Regions from separate parts of the Homo sapiens genome. Here all the other regions are linked to region 1. Evidence: promoter capture Hi-C in 16 types of primary human blood cells and fetal thymus (Javierre and others, 2016). All regions are on one chromosome and are shown on one strand. The core of a region is centred on a gene start or on the middle of the fragment in contact, and the rest is flanking DNA. Distances in the headings are between cores, read along the strand shown.

Region 1 (4,415 bases), core at 220-2,719:
TAGTAGCGACGGGGTTTCACCGTTTTAGCTGGGATGGTCTCGATCTCCTGACCTCGTGATCCGCCCGCCTCGGCCTCCCAAAGTGCTGGGATTACAGGCGTGAGCCACCGCGCCCGGCCACTAGGATCCTTAAAACTGGAAGAGGGAGACAGAAGAGAGTCAGAGAAAGGGATATGATGACAGAAGCAGGGCCATCTGGCTTTGAAGATAGAACAAGGAGGCCATGAGCCAAGGAATGTGGATGGCTTCTAGAAGCTGAAAGAGCCAAGGAAATTGATTCCCTTCTATTTGGCAGAAAGAAACCCAGCCCAGCCACCACCTTGATTTTAGCCGATGGAGACTCATGTCACACTTCTGAGCTACAGAACTGTAAAATGATAAGTTGGTGTTGTTTTAAGCCACTAAATTTGTAGTAATTTATTATGGCAACAGAAGAAAATGAATGCACGGCCTCATCCTGATATTCCCGTTCTTAAATCCATTTCATTTTATTTCCACCTGGACTTCAGCCCTAACCTTGCCTCATCTCTGCTCTCTGGGTCCATCTTCTGGCCCCTGGATTGTTGAGAACTCCAAGGGGATGTGCTATTCAGTTGAATTTCGGCAGCAGGCAAAGGGAGGAGTCCAAGAAGAGGGCAGGTGAAGGCAAGGGTTAAGCAAGAGTTCTAGCTCTGGAAGCAGACTGGCTTGGTACTGAACCTCCGGGAGCTTTTGTTCTCTGTGGAAGCCTGAGCAAGGTATTTGGCTTGTTTCTTTGGCTCCAATGTAAAGACAGTGATAGGTGCTACCTCAGAAGGTTGCTGTGAGGATGCAATGCGATAATGTGTGTAAGGTGCTAAACGCAGCGCCCAGCAGACAGGAACACAGGAAATGAATGGCAGAGAAACTCTATTAGACATTTATCATGTGACATTATAATTAATGTTCATGTGCCATCAGGAGACCAGATCCAAGGAACGGCAGAAAGATCACAGGAGGGCACTCAAGGGCAACGCCGAGCACCCAGGGCCAGGTGCCCAGCCCTCCTCCTCTTCCCCTTCCTGTCCCCTCCCCTTTCCTGCTGGGGCAGCAGGGGCTTAGGGACAAAGCCCCAGGCGATGAGGAGGTGGCTTGGACAGCTGGTGCTCACACACACACACACCCCCGCCCTGTCTCCCAGAGGCCTGGCAGCCCCACACTCTCCCCCTCCGCCTCCTCCCCACACCCCCTCCACCTCGGGCTGCCCTTTGGTGGCAGATCAGGGCTGGTTTCCCGAGGAGTGGGGCGCACGTGGCGCGAAGCCCCCGCCTTCTCGCTGCCCCTGAGCAGGGGGCCGTGGGGGGAGCTGGCCGGCGGCCGGCATGGGGTTCTCACTTCCCCTCCCCAACGGCCGCGGGTGCAGGTGCCGCGGGCCGAGTCCCGCAGGCGGGGCGGACTCTGTGGACACGCCCTCGTGGCGAGGCCGGGCTGCCCTGAGGGAGGAAGCGCCAGAGCGGCGGCCGGTCCCGCGCGGAGCCCGGCGCCCCTCCAGCCCGAGCCAGGACGCCGCCGGCCCCGGTCCCGGCCCCGGGCACGCAGCGAGCCAGGGATGTGAGCGGCGCCCCGCGGCATGGCAGCCTCAGGTGGGTAGGCAGGCGCCGCGGGTCCCCGGGCTCCCGGCCCCTCTCTCGTACCCCGCATCCCTTGAGGCGCGCTCCCCCGCTTGCTTCTGTTTGCGTCCTCTGTGCGGGGATCTTGCCCTCTTTCTGCTCTTTTCTATGTTCCCTGTCGCAAACTTCCCACTCCAACTTTCCCACGTTTCCCGTCCCAGCCTGTGGCGCGATTCTCTTCAGCCCCTGCCTGGCCCGACCCCCTCCCACTTCTTCAGGGTCTCCTTCGCTCCCTCCACCTCTGGCCCTAGGAGTGTCTGAGCGTCGCTTCCCCTGTCCCTCCGACTCTGAAGCGAGAGGCGAGTTGAGAGAAGCGGAGGGCGGGCGATGTGGATGGTCTACAGGGCCAAACGCGTCTCCTGGGCTCCGTGGACCCACAGGGGGCGCTCAGGCAGTCCTAGGTGGTGCGGAGAGATCAGCCGGGGAGGCCCTTGGGACAGTTCCCCAAGCCCCGTTCCTCCACCCCTCCCAGGCTTTGTGTTTTGGGTCTAGAACTTTGCTAGGGATCTAGGAACACTATTCCTTGAACTTTACTTTTCCTGCGTCCTTTGCAGAACTTTGGGGAATGGGGAGAGTTGGCGGTCACTGGGTAAATGTACTCATCAAAGGGTGCCAAGCGTCTTTTCTGGCTGGTCTTGGGTTGCCTTCTGGTTCATGGGTGTACACACTTGGCAAGTCGCTCACTGACGGAGATCCAGGACAAGCCACATAATGATGATAACGGAGACAATTAATGAGTCCTTACTATTGCACTCCAATGGATACTGTGCACCTAATATGTTCTCCATGGTGGGCAGGAAACACCTAGTCTCTGCTCTCCAGGAGTTTATGGTCCTGTAGAGGAAAGCAATAAGTAAACAAGGAATTACTAGATGAGAGGAGGTAGAGTTACAGTGTTTACAAATGGGTTTACTTGTATTTTCCCAGCCCACTTTATGATGTTTTAGTAGGGATAACCTGTGAAAACAGGTTGCAGGTGCCCCTTGAAAAAGAAAATCTAGGTGGCCAGGAGAAGGCACTGTTCTTACAGGAGGTGAGCAAACACTGGAATGAAGAGCCAGCTCTCCCCAGATCCTCTGAGGGTCTGGTAAGGGTGCTTCGGAAGCAGAGGTAGAAAAGGCCAGGAGTGATTGTTCCATGTACTACAGGCTCATTAAAGGGGATGGGAAGGTAGTTAATCACAGCCTCCTGGCTCTCCAGCTGGGCTCTGGAGGCTAAAAGAAGCTGTGTTGTGAATAAGGAGGCCTAGTAATAGCAGGTAATATACACTTAATAAGGAAAATCTCTGGTATGACATGTGTTATGGGAAAACGATAAAGAAGGGTGAGGGAGACTGGGGTTAGGATTTTCAAATGAGGTGGCCAGGGTGGAGAAAGGCACATTTGAGCCAAGATTTCCAGGGGGAGGAGGCTCTTTGGGGAAGAGTGCTCCAAGCAATGAGTGTATGTGGTGCGTTAAAGGAAAGGGAGTAGGCCAGAGTGGCTGGAGTAGGTGGGCTGTGGGGGAGAGGGAGATGAGGCCAGATAATAAACCAGTGAAGCCGCCTCCTCCTTCCATGGTCAGGAACAGGCCCTGGGCTGCTGAGTCCAGGAAACCGCAAACTGGGAGGGCCTTTGGGTGGAAGAGTCTGAGAAAATGGCCTCTCTTTTCCTCTTTTCCAGCGTCCTGTGTACCTCTCTCCAGTGGACACAGCCGAAGGAGCTAGGAAGGCGAGCTCCAGTTCAGAGGGGGACCCTAGTCCGGTGGGCAAACCTGGGGCTATTTATGGGCTCTGTAGCAGCTTCTGCAGGTGTTTGTAATGGTTAGAGCTGTCAAACTGTCTTGCTGTCTGCGTCTTCTGTGGCGAGACACCACTCCAGGTGCTGTAATTGAGAGTTGGGTCTCTGGAGTCCCTCGGGTTCCCTGAGGTTTGGAAGTACAAGGACCCATGGGGGAAGATCACAGTGGTGAGAGCAATGCCGCTCGCCAAGGTGCTGTGGGCTTTGGAGTCATCCAGCCACCCTTCTGTATGTTCTTCTTTTCTTTTAAAAGCAGCTTTATTGTGATATAATTCACATGCCATACAATTCATCCATTTAAAGCATACAATTCAGTGGTTTTTAGTATCTTTACAGATATGTGTAGCCATCACCACAGTCAATTTTGGGACATTTTCATCACCTCAGAAAGAAACCTTGTATGCTTTAGGTATCAACCTTTTATTCTCCTCTCCTCTCCCAGCCCTAAGATCTACTTTGCCTCTATAGATTTCTCTACTCTGGGCTTGTATATGAATGGAATCACATAGTATGTGGTCTTTGGTGACTGGCTTCCTTTGTACAGCATAATATTTTCAAAGTTCATCCCACTGTAGCTTATATCAGTACTTCGTTCCTTTTTATGGCCTAATTCTTAAATTCCCTTCCACTGAAGGGGAAGCATTAGTCTATATTGTTTTCTGAAAGATGTCTGCTTGTTGAAATCCAGGAGAAGTTAGGCTCCCTGTCTTTGAAAGGACCTTGGGTAGGAAGATAAAATGAAATGGACTTGGCCTATTCCACAAAATTCTCTAGGCCCCTGATGGCATCTTGTGTATTTACACGTGAGAGAGAGGAAAGAGAGGATCCGTGAGTGACTTTCCCAAGTGGCCAAGTCTGTGGCTGGGTGAAGAAAGACTAGTACTCTCTCCTCTGTGTATCAGCTCTCATACCGTCTCTTGCCCCCTCTCTCCAAGGCTCTTCTCTTTAGATCCTTCTACTATTCCTGGACTTACAGGACCATGGAGCTTGAAGGGACTTTTAACCTTTT
Region 2 (4,415 bases), core at 564-3,063, 58 kb after region 1:
CTTTTACCCATGTCACTTAGAACTCTTTGAAAATAATGTTTTTAATAGTCTTTTAGGTTGTTTTCAGTTTTTTCACTGATGCAAAGCCTCTTGGTTCAGAATCTTTATTTTGGACTTTTATTTTCCTCCTTAAGAGAGACTTCTGGAAATAGAATTATGTGGCAAAAGCTGTGAACATTTTCAAGGCCTTCTCTTTCTCTGGGTGTGGACACATGGCTTTCCAGAAAGATTGTGCAGTTTGTACTTCCCTCAGCAGCTGGGGGGTATCTGTCCTCCAGTCACCTTTAAACCCTGCACTGTTTAAAGTTTAAAGTTTATTGGGTGTACTTCACAGCATTTTCTAATTTGAAAAGCTAAAATAGCAAGACAGCATTGTATTTTCATTTGCATTCTCATGATGACTAGTGAGAATGAATGATATTTGTTTGAATGGGGAGGTAATTTGTATTCCTTCTTTTATGAATTGTCTTCTTATTGGTCTTGGGGTATTTTAAAAGAGATTTCGTGACATCTTCGTATATTAAGAAGATTAGCCCCTTATCATTTTTACTTCAAATTTTTAAACTGTTTGTGATTTGCCAATGGGTTTCTTTTTTTTTTTTTTTTTTTTTTTTTTTGACGGAGTCTCACTCTGTTGCCCAGGCTGGAGTACAGTGGTGCGATCTCGACTCACTGCAACTTCTGCCTCCTGGGTTCAAGTGATTCTCCTGCCTCAGCCTCCTGAGAAGCTGGGATTACAGGCGTATACCACCATGCCCGGCTAATTTTTGCATTTTTAGTAGAGACGGAGTTTCACCATGTTGGCCAGGCTGGTCTTGAACTCCTGACCTCAGGTGATCCACCTGCCTCAACCTACCAAAGTGTTGGGATTACAGGTATGAGCCACCGCGCCCAGCCTGCCATTGGTTTCTTTGTTGAGGTATAATTCACATACCATCAATTTATCCATTTAAAGTGTACAATTCAATGTTTTTTTCGTATATTCACAGATTTGTGCAATATTCACCATAATCCATTTTAGAGTATTTTCAATCAATTTTAGAATATTTTCATCACCTCAGAAAGAAATTTCATACCTCTTAGCTATTGTCCCACAATCCTGCCAATCTCCCCAGCCCAAAGCAACCACTAATCTACTTTCTGTCTCTATAGATTTGCCTGTCCTGGACATATATTTGGAATCATATAATTTGTGGTCTTTTATGACTATCTTCTTTCACTTAGCATAATGTTTTCAAGATTCATGCATGCTGTAGCATTTATCAGTACATCATTCATTTTTATTTATCTATTTAATTTACTTATTTATTGAGATGGAGTTTCCCTCTTTTTTTTTTTTTTTTTTTTTTTTTTTTTGAGACGGAGTCTCGCTCTGTCGCCCAGGCGGGACTGCGGACTGCAGTGGCGCAATCTCGGCTCACTGCAAGCTCCGCTTCCCCGGTTCACGCCATTCTCCTGCCTCAGCCTCCCGAGTAGCTGGGACTACAGGCGCCCGCCACCGCGCCCGGCTAATTTTTTTTGTATTTTTAGTAGAGACGGGGTTTCACCTTGTTAGCCAGGATGGTCTCGATCTCCTGACCTCATGATCCACCCGCCTCGGCCTCCCAAAGTGCTGGGATTACAGGCGTGAGCCACCGCGCCCGGCCGGAGTTTCCCTCTTGTTGCCCAGGCTGGAGTGCAGTGGCGCGATCTTGGCTCACTGCAATCTCTGCCTCCTGGGTTCAAGCAATTCTCCTGCCTCAGCCTCTTGAGTAGTTGAGAATACAGGCGCCCACCACCATGCCTGGCTAATTTTTTGTATTTTTAGTAGAGATAGGGTTTCACCATGTTGGCCAGGCTGATCTCGAGCTCCTGACCTCAGGTGATCCACCCGCCTTGGCCTCCCAAAAGTGCAGGGATTACAGGTGTGAGCCACTGCGCCCGGCCTTATTTATCTATTATAATAAGAAAATGTGTCTCTATTTATATAAAACAACATATTGTTTTGAAATTTATTTCTCTTTATTGCTGAGTAATGTTCCATTATATGGACATACCTCATTTTGTTTATCCATTCATCAGTTGATGGACATTTGGGCTGTTTCCACCTTTTGACTATTAGGAATGATGCTGCTACAGCATTTTGATTTTAGTTTTTTGTTTGTTTACTAAAGTTTTAAATTTATATTATCAAGTCTTGCTCATTTAGATTGTGATTTTTGTTTGTTTAACAAATATTTTCCCAAACCACTGATAAAATGTTCACATGTATTTTCTTTTTAATTTTTAAAATTTGTTTATTTATTTTGCATTTTAATCTCTAATCCATCTAAATTTTATTTTGGAGTTATAAGAATTAGGAAGAATCTAAATAGTACCCCTCACTTTCCCCTCTCCTTTCCCTTTCCTTTCCCTTTCCCTTTTCCCTTTCCTTTCCTGTCCTGTCCTGTCCTGTCCTGTCCTGTCCTGTCCTATCCTGTCCTTTCCTTTTCTCAGTGTCTCGCTCTGTCTCCCAGGCTGGAGTGCAGTGGCACAATCTGCAACCTCCACTTCCTGGACTCAAGCGACCCTCCCACCTCAGCCTCCCAAGTAGCTGGGACTGCAGGCACATGCCACCATGCCTGGCTAATATTTTTGAGTAGATTTTATATTTTAGAGCAGTTTTAGGTTCATAGCAAAATTAAGTGGAAAGCATGCAAAGTTCCATGTCTGCTCTGCCCCTATGTACACACAGCCTCCTCCCACCCCCATCAACATCCAGCACCAGAGTGGCACATTTGTTACCACTGATGAATCTACATTGATGCATCATTATCACTCACCCGAAGGCCAGAGTTTATATTAGGATTCACCTACTGTTGTATACTCTATTGGTGTGGACAAATGTCTAATAACATGCACCCACCAGTATAGTATCATACAGAGTAGTTTCATTGCCCTAAAAAGCCTCTGTGCTCTGCCTATTCATTCTTTCTTTCCTCCTAACCACTGGCAATCAGTGATCCATAGTTCTGCCTTTTCCAGAATGTCATATAGTTGGAATCCTACAGTGTGTTTTCAGATTGGCTTTTTTTTTTTTAGATGGAGTTTTGCTCGTTTCCCAGGCTGAAGTGCAGTGGCGCAATCTCAGCTCACTGCAACCTTCACCTCCCAGGTTCAAGTGATTCTCCTGCCTCAGCCTCATGAGAGGCTAATTTTTGTATTAGCCTCTCGGCCTCATGGCTGGCTAATTTTTGTATTTTCAGTAGAAACAGGGTTTCACCATGTTGGCCAGGCTGGTCTCGAACTCCTGACCTCAGGTGATCCAACTACCTTGGCCTCCCAAAGTGCTGGGATTACAGGGGTGAGCCACCATGCCTGACTCAGAGTGACTTCTTTCACTTAGTAATATGCATTCAGGTTTTCTCCATGGCATTTCAGGGCTTGCCTGCTCATTTCTTTTTGGTGCAGAATAGTATTGTATTGTCTGGGTGTACCGCACTTTATCCATTCACCTACTGAAGGACATCTTGGTCACTTCCAAGTTTTGGCTGTTTTGAACAAAGCTGCTATAAACATTTGTGTGCAGGTTTTTGTGTGACTGTAAGTTTTCAATTCTTTTTGGTAAATACTGAGGAGCATGATTGCTGGATTGTTTAGTAAGCTTGTGTTTAGTTTTGTAAGTCTGTCTTCCAAAGTGGCTGTACCATTTTGCATTCCTGCCAGCAAAGGATGCATTCCTACCAGAAAAGGAGAAGAACCTCGGGAAAGGATGCAAGTTCTTGTTGCTCCACTTCCTGACCAGCATTTGGTGTTGTCAGTGTTCTCGCTTCTGCCCATTCTCATAGATTTGTAGTGCTATTTCATGGCTGTTTTAATTTGCGTTTCCCTGATGACATATGATGTGGACCATCTTTTCAAGATATACAGATGGCTTCTTTGCCATCCATGTGTCTTATTTGGTGAAGTGTCTGTTCAGGTCTTTTGCTCTTTTTTAAAATCAGGCTTTTCGTTTTCTGCTTGTTGAGTTTTAAGAGTTCTTTGTATATTTTGGGTACAAGTATTTTATTAGATATGTCTTTTGCAATATTTTCTCCCAGACGATCGCTTATCTCTGCATTCTTTTGACAATGTCTTTCGCAGAACAGATCTGTACTGGTTTTTAATGCTTTTTAAAATCCCATATTAAGTTTTTATGGGAATGAAGCCTTAATTCTGGACCATCTCTTGTATTCAATTGCTCTATCCATTCTGTTTTTTAATAACTTTAATATAAAATAGGACTATCCTTTATTATTTTTTAAAACTTTACTAGAAGACGTAATACCTATATAAATGGAGTTTTCCAGGGTAGGAAATAATTAGTATTATAAAGAAGAACATTGTCCCAAATAAAATGTTAAATTCAATTCAAAGAAGGTTGTGTGGCTTTTACTCTAAATATTATTTTAAAACTG
Region 3 (4,415 bases), core at 1,332-3,831, 41 kb after region 1:
CAGGTGTTTGTTTATCGAAATCTTACTCTATAGTGCTAGCTATTTCATTCTCTAGTATTTGTGTGCAGTTGCTCTAATAGTGCATCCCCCCCTTGTTTCTCTCTCTCTCTCTCTCTCTCTATATATATATATATATATACACACACATATATTTATGTATGCATATTTTTTAAAGTCTATAAGAGTGAGAAAGTATACCAATTACTTTTCATTAACACATCTATAAAAACCTGGATCTTTAAGTCCCTGAGCAAAATGTGGTCATCACTGCCCTCGTGGGTAATTGCATACAGGCATAGTCACTCTGTGATACAGGCACTCAGGATAATTTTAAAAGTGTTCCAGATGCAGTTGCTGCTACCCATGTCCTAAGTAAAATTGGGAAGTCACCAAATTTGCCTTCTGATAACCTTCCAGCTCTTCTTCCCTTACCCTTCTCCATTATGACTCATCTTCTGCACAGCAGCCTCCGGTTCGGTGCCTTCATGTCCAGAGTCACCTACTTTGACTGTGGAAACATCCTACTAGAGCCCCCTTTTGGGCCCAAGTTTCCAGAATGATCTTTCTCTTCAACACTCTCCCAAACCTAGCTGAAATCTGCTCTCCAAAGAGACTGATCTCAGCATAATATGAGAGAATAATTGGATTAATGGTCGTCCTTGAGGGAGTGTCTAGAGGAGAGCCAGCAGCCCTGGTTTAGGTTTCGTGGCCAGTTATTCTCTGACTTTGAGGCATACACAGAAGTCAGACATCACATTTGTTATGGGATGAATTGTGTCTACCTTATATTCATATTTGGAAGTCCTAACCTTTCGTACCTCAGAACCCGACTGGATTTGGAGATAGAGTTTTTAAAAAGGTAATTAAGGTAAAATGAGGTCATATAGATGGGCCCTTATCCAATATGACTGGTGTCTTTAGAAGGAGAGGGGATTAGGACACAGATGTGTGCACACACGGAAGAGAAATTATGGAGGACAGAGTGAGAAGCCAGCCATCTGCAACCAAGCAGGGAGGCCCGAGAAAAAAACAACCCTGCTGACACCTTGATCTTGGACTTGTGGCCTCTAGAATTGTGGGAAAGTAAATTTCTATTGTTTAAGCCACACAGTCTATGGTGTTTTGTTATGGCAGCCCTAGCAAATGAATACAGATTTATTGATGGATAACACTCGTAGGTGACTGGGTAGATTTTACACTGAGTGACTGAAGCATTATTCAACATTGTCTTGATCTAGTTCAATATGATAATCCTGAGTTCTGCTTTTAGGTCCATAAATGCAATTGAACTAGTGCAGCACAGCAGAAATCCAACATGGCATCAACATGTGAAAGTGAATTGCAGGATTTATAGTTGACTACCTGTTAAAAAGCAATCAATAGTATGAATACCAAAGACGTAGACTCAACCTAAATGCCCACTAATGGTAGACTGGATAAAGAAAATGTGGTACATATACACTGTGGAATATTATGCAGCCATAAAAAAGAATGAGATCATGTCCTTTGCAGGAACATGGATGGAGCTGGTGGCCATTATCCTTAGCAAACTAACAGAGGAACAGAAAACCAAATACTACATGTTTTCACTTACAACTGAGAACTAAATGATGAGAACACATGGATACATAGAGGGGAGAAACAGACACCAGGGCATTCCTGAGGGTGGAGGGTGGGAGGAGGGAGAGGATCAGAAAAAATAACTATTGGATACTAGGCTTAGTACCTGGATGACAAAATAATCTGTACAACAAACCCTCATGACATCCATTTACTTATATAACAAACCTGCACATGTACCCCTGAACTTAAAAGTTAAAAAAAAAAAATCAATAGTATGATGTGGCCGCTAAAAGCTACCACAGTATTAAGCTACCTTAATAAGAGAATGGCTCCTTTGTCCTAGAATAATTTCAGTATGTTCTACCAAGAATGGTGTTCCATTCTGGGTGCCACCTTTTTAGAAGGAAACTGGCTGACTAGAATATGTCCAGAGAAGAACAACCAAGAAGCTTGGAACCATTTATGCACCATTTTTTGGAAAGGGCTGAGGCTGTGTTCTGAGTTGCAAGGTAAGGGAGATCTCTATTTGAGGTGGAGGTTGCTGAGAGGAAGGAAGGGTGGACATGATAGTGGGAGTCCCATCACTCTTTCCACCCTGGGTGATTACAAGGTTGGGGATTGCATGGCACTCCCCTGGGGACAGTGACTGGTCATGTGAACTAAGTTGGAGCAGTCAGAATGAAGGGAAGAGTTTCTGTTCCATGCTCGTGGGAATATTTTTCTCTTTTCCTCTGGACCTTGTTGTGAAGTGAACCTGTGGCTACCACAGCCGTCTTGCCACCAGCTTGAGAATTTGTGCTGAAGATGGTAGAATAGAGAAATGGGAAGAACCTGGGACCTTGGTGCTGTGGCTGAACACTTACCAACCCCAAACCTGCCTGAATGCTGGGCTTTGGATTCCAGGAGATAAATGTCCTTAATGTTTAAGGCATTTTGAGTTGGGATTTCTCTTGCTTGCAGCAGAACTATCTTAACAGATTCTGCAAGGTTGGACTAAAGATAAGGATGAGCTTTCACAGATATTAATAATTTTTTTTTTTTTTGAGACGGAGTCTTGCTCTGTCGCCCAGGCTGGAGTGCAGCAGCGAGATCTCGGCTTACTGCAACTTCCGCCTCCCAGGTCCAAGAGATTCTCCTGCCTCAGCCTCCTGAGTAGCTGGGACTATAAGCACCCACCACCACACCTGGCTAATTTTTGTATTTTTAGTAGAGGCGGGGTTTCACCATGTTGGCCAGGCTGGTCTCAAACTCTTGACCTCAAAAGATCCAGCCACCTTGGCCTCCCAAAGTGCTGGGATTTTAGACAGGAGCCACTGCACCCAGCCCAGATATTAATAATTCAAAATGCACATCAGTGGAGTAGACTCAAGAAGGGAGCTCTTGTCTCTGTAATATTCAAGTAGAGGTTGACCATGATAAAAAAAAATCCTTGAGTGTAATTTGCACTAAATGATTCTTCAGGTTCTTTCAAATTCTGATCATCTAAGATTCAAAAATAATTCTTACTAAAGTGTGACTGTCTGTGAAGCTGAACCTTCCCCAGAGCATTTGCATCATCCTCAGTGTGATAACTCAGATGAAGCTTTTATTAGTTGAATGTGGAGGTGGGGGAGGTTTTTGTGTATGAGAACCTTCCAGGTGCTCCTTGCCTACTTGGTATTAGTGGGTCGCTCTCCTCTTCCCCTACAGGGGTCTGTGTCTCTACTTTTGGAAGGTTGTTGAACCTGAACAAAGAGGAAATAAACTATATTGTGACTGCAGGGTTGGCAAAACACTACATACAAAGGACTACAATATCATGAAAAGGAAAAGTGAAAAGGAGGAAGGTGTTGAGGCAGTGGGCACAGAGGCTCAGAGGAGTGGTGGAGAGGTGGGTCATAGGTTGCAAGATCCCAAGGAAGGAATTTTCTACCTGTTTTAACCCATGCTCCCTTTTGACTCACACCCTCCTTCTATAGTGCATTTATTAAAATAATAGTTTAAAATTTTAATTATAGTATAGGCCAGGTACAGTGGTTCAAGCCTATAATCCCAGCACATTGGGAGATCAAGGTGGGAGGATCCATGGAGCCCAGGAGTTCGAGACCAACCTGGGAAACATGGATAAACCCTGCCTTTACAAAAAAAATTTTTTTTGAGACAGGATCTCACTCTGTCACCCAGGCTGGAGTGCAGTGGTGTGATCTCGACTCATTGCAACCTCCGCCTCCTGGGTTCAAGCGATTCTCTTGCCTCAGCCTCCCTAGTAGCTGGAACTACAGGTGTGTGCCACCACGCCTAGCTAATTTTTTGTATTTTTAGTAGAGACGGGGTTTCATCATGTTGGCCAGGCTGGTCTCGAACTCCTGACCTCAGATGATCTGCCCACTTCGGCCTCCCAAAGTGCTGGGATTACAGGCATGAACCACTGTGCCCAGCCTACAATTTTTTTTAATTTAAATTAGCTGGATGTGGTGGCATATGCCTGTAGTCCTAACTACTCGGGAGGCTGAGGTAGGAGGATCATTTGAGCCCAGGAGGTCGAGGCTGCAGTGAGCCATGATCACACCACTACACTCCAGTTTTGGCAATAGAGCAAGCAAGACTTTGTCTCTAAAAATAAATAAATAAATAAAATTGTAATATAATATTGGCTATGCTTCTAAAAGCTACACAATTTCTCTATTCTAATTCATCATTCTGGCAAGACCTTTGCAAAAACTCTCACCTCCCTCTGAGGTGATGAGAACCCCTGGGACAGATTCTTCTTGATCCTGATCCCAATGTTGATTAGGTTTCCAGTGGTTTCTATAACTGTACCTAAATGAACAGTGAAAACCATGTTTTGTCCTCACGCTTGTGATTCTAAACCG

What was found. The method cuts DNA at HindIII sites, captures the fragments that hold promoters and counts their contacts. A CHiCAGO score of 5 or more calls a contact.
Region 2: a contact is called between a fragment that was not itself captured here and the fragment with the promoter of PIK3AP1 in region 1, in 9 of 17 cell types (monocytes, total B cells, erythroblasts and 6 more). The highest score is 9.8, in monocytes.
Region 3: a contact is called between a fragment that was not itself captured here and the fragment with the promoter of PIK3AP1 in region 1, in 6 of 17 cell types (total B cells, monocytes, naive B cells and 3 more). The highest score is 9.5, in total B cells.

What each region holds. Positions count from the first base shown.
Region 1 is chr10:96,717,568-96,721,982 of GRCh38, reverse strand. PIK3AP1 (phosphoinositide-3-kinase adaptor protein 1) reads left to right here and starts at 1,469. Exons shown (of 17, transcript NM_152309.3): 1 at 1,469-1,601. The coding sequence starts at 1,589. RefSeq lists enhancers at 878-987, 1,838-1,947 and silencers at 1,108-1,407, 1,458-1,707. The HindIII fragment of the contact is 16,174 bases long and covers 1-4,415 here.
Region 2 is chr10:96,659,830-96,664,244 of GRCh38, reverse strand. The region is part of intron 2 of PIK3AP1 (phosphoinositide-3-kinase adaptor protein 1); the gene reads left to right. Among named protein-coding and RNA genes, the nearest start is that of PIK3AP1, 58 kb to the left of the region's middle. The HindIII fragment of the contact is 3,622 bases long and covers 3-3,624 here.
Region 3 is chr10:96,677,719-96,682,133 of GRCh38, reverse strand. All of the region lies in intron 2 of PIK3AP1 (phosphoinositide-3-kinase adaptor protein 1), which reads left to right. Among named protein-coding and RNA genes, the nearest start is that of PIK3AP1, 41 kb to the left of the region's middle. RefSeq lists an enhancer at 3,098-3,357. The HindIII fragment of the contact is 1,133 bases long and covers 2,015-3,147 here.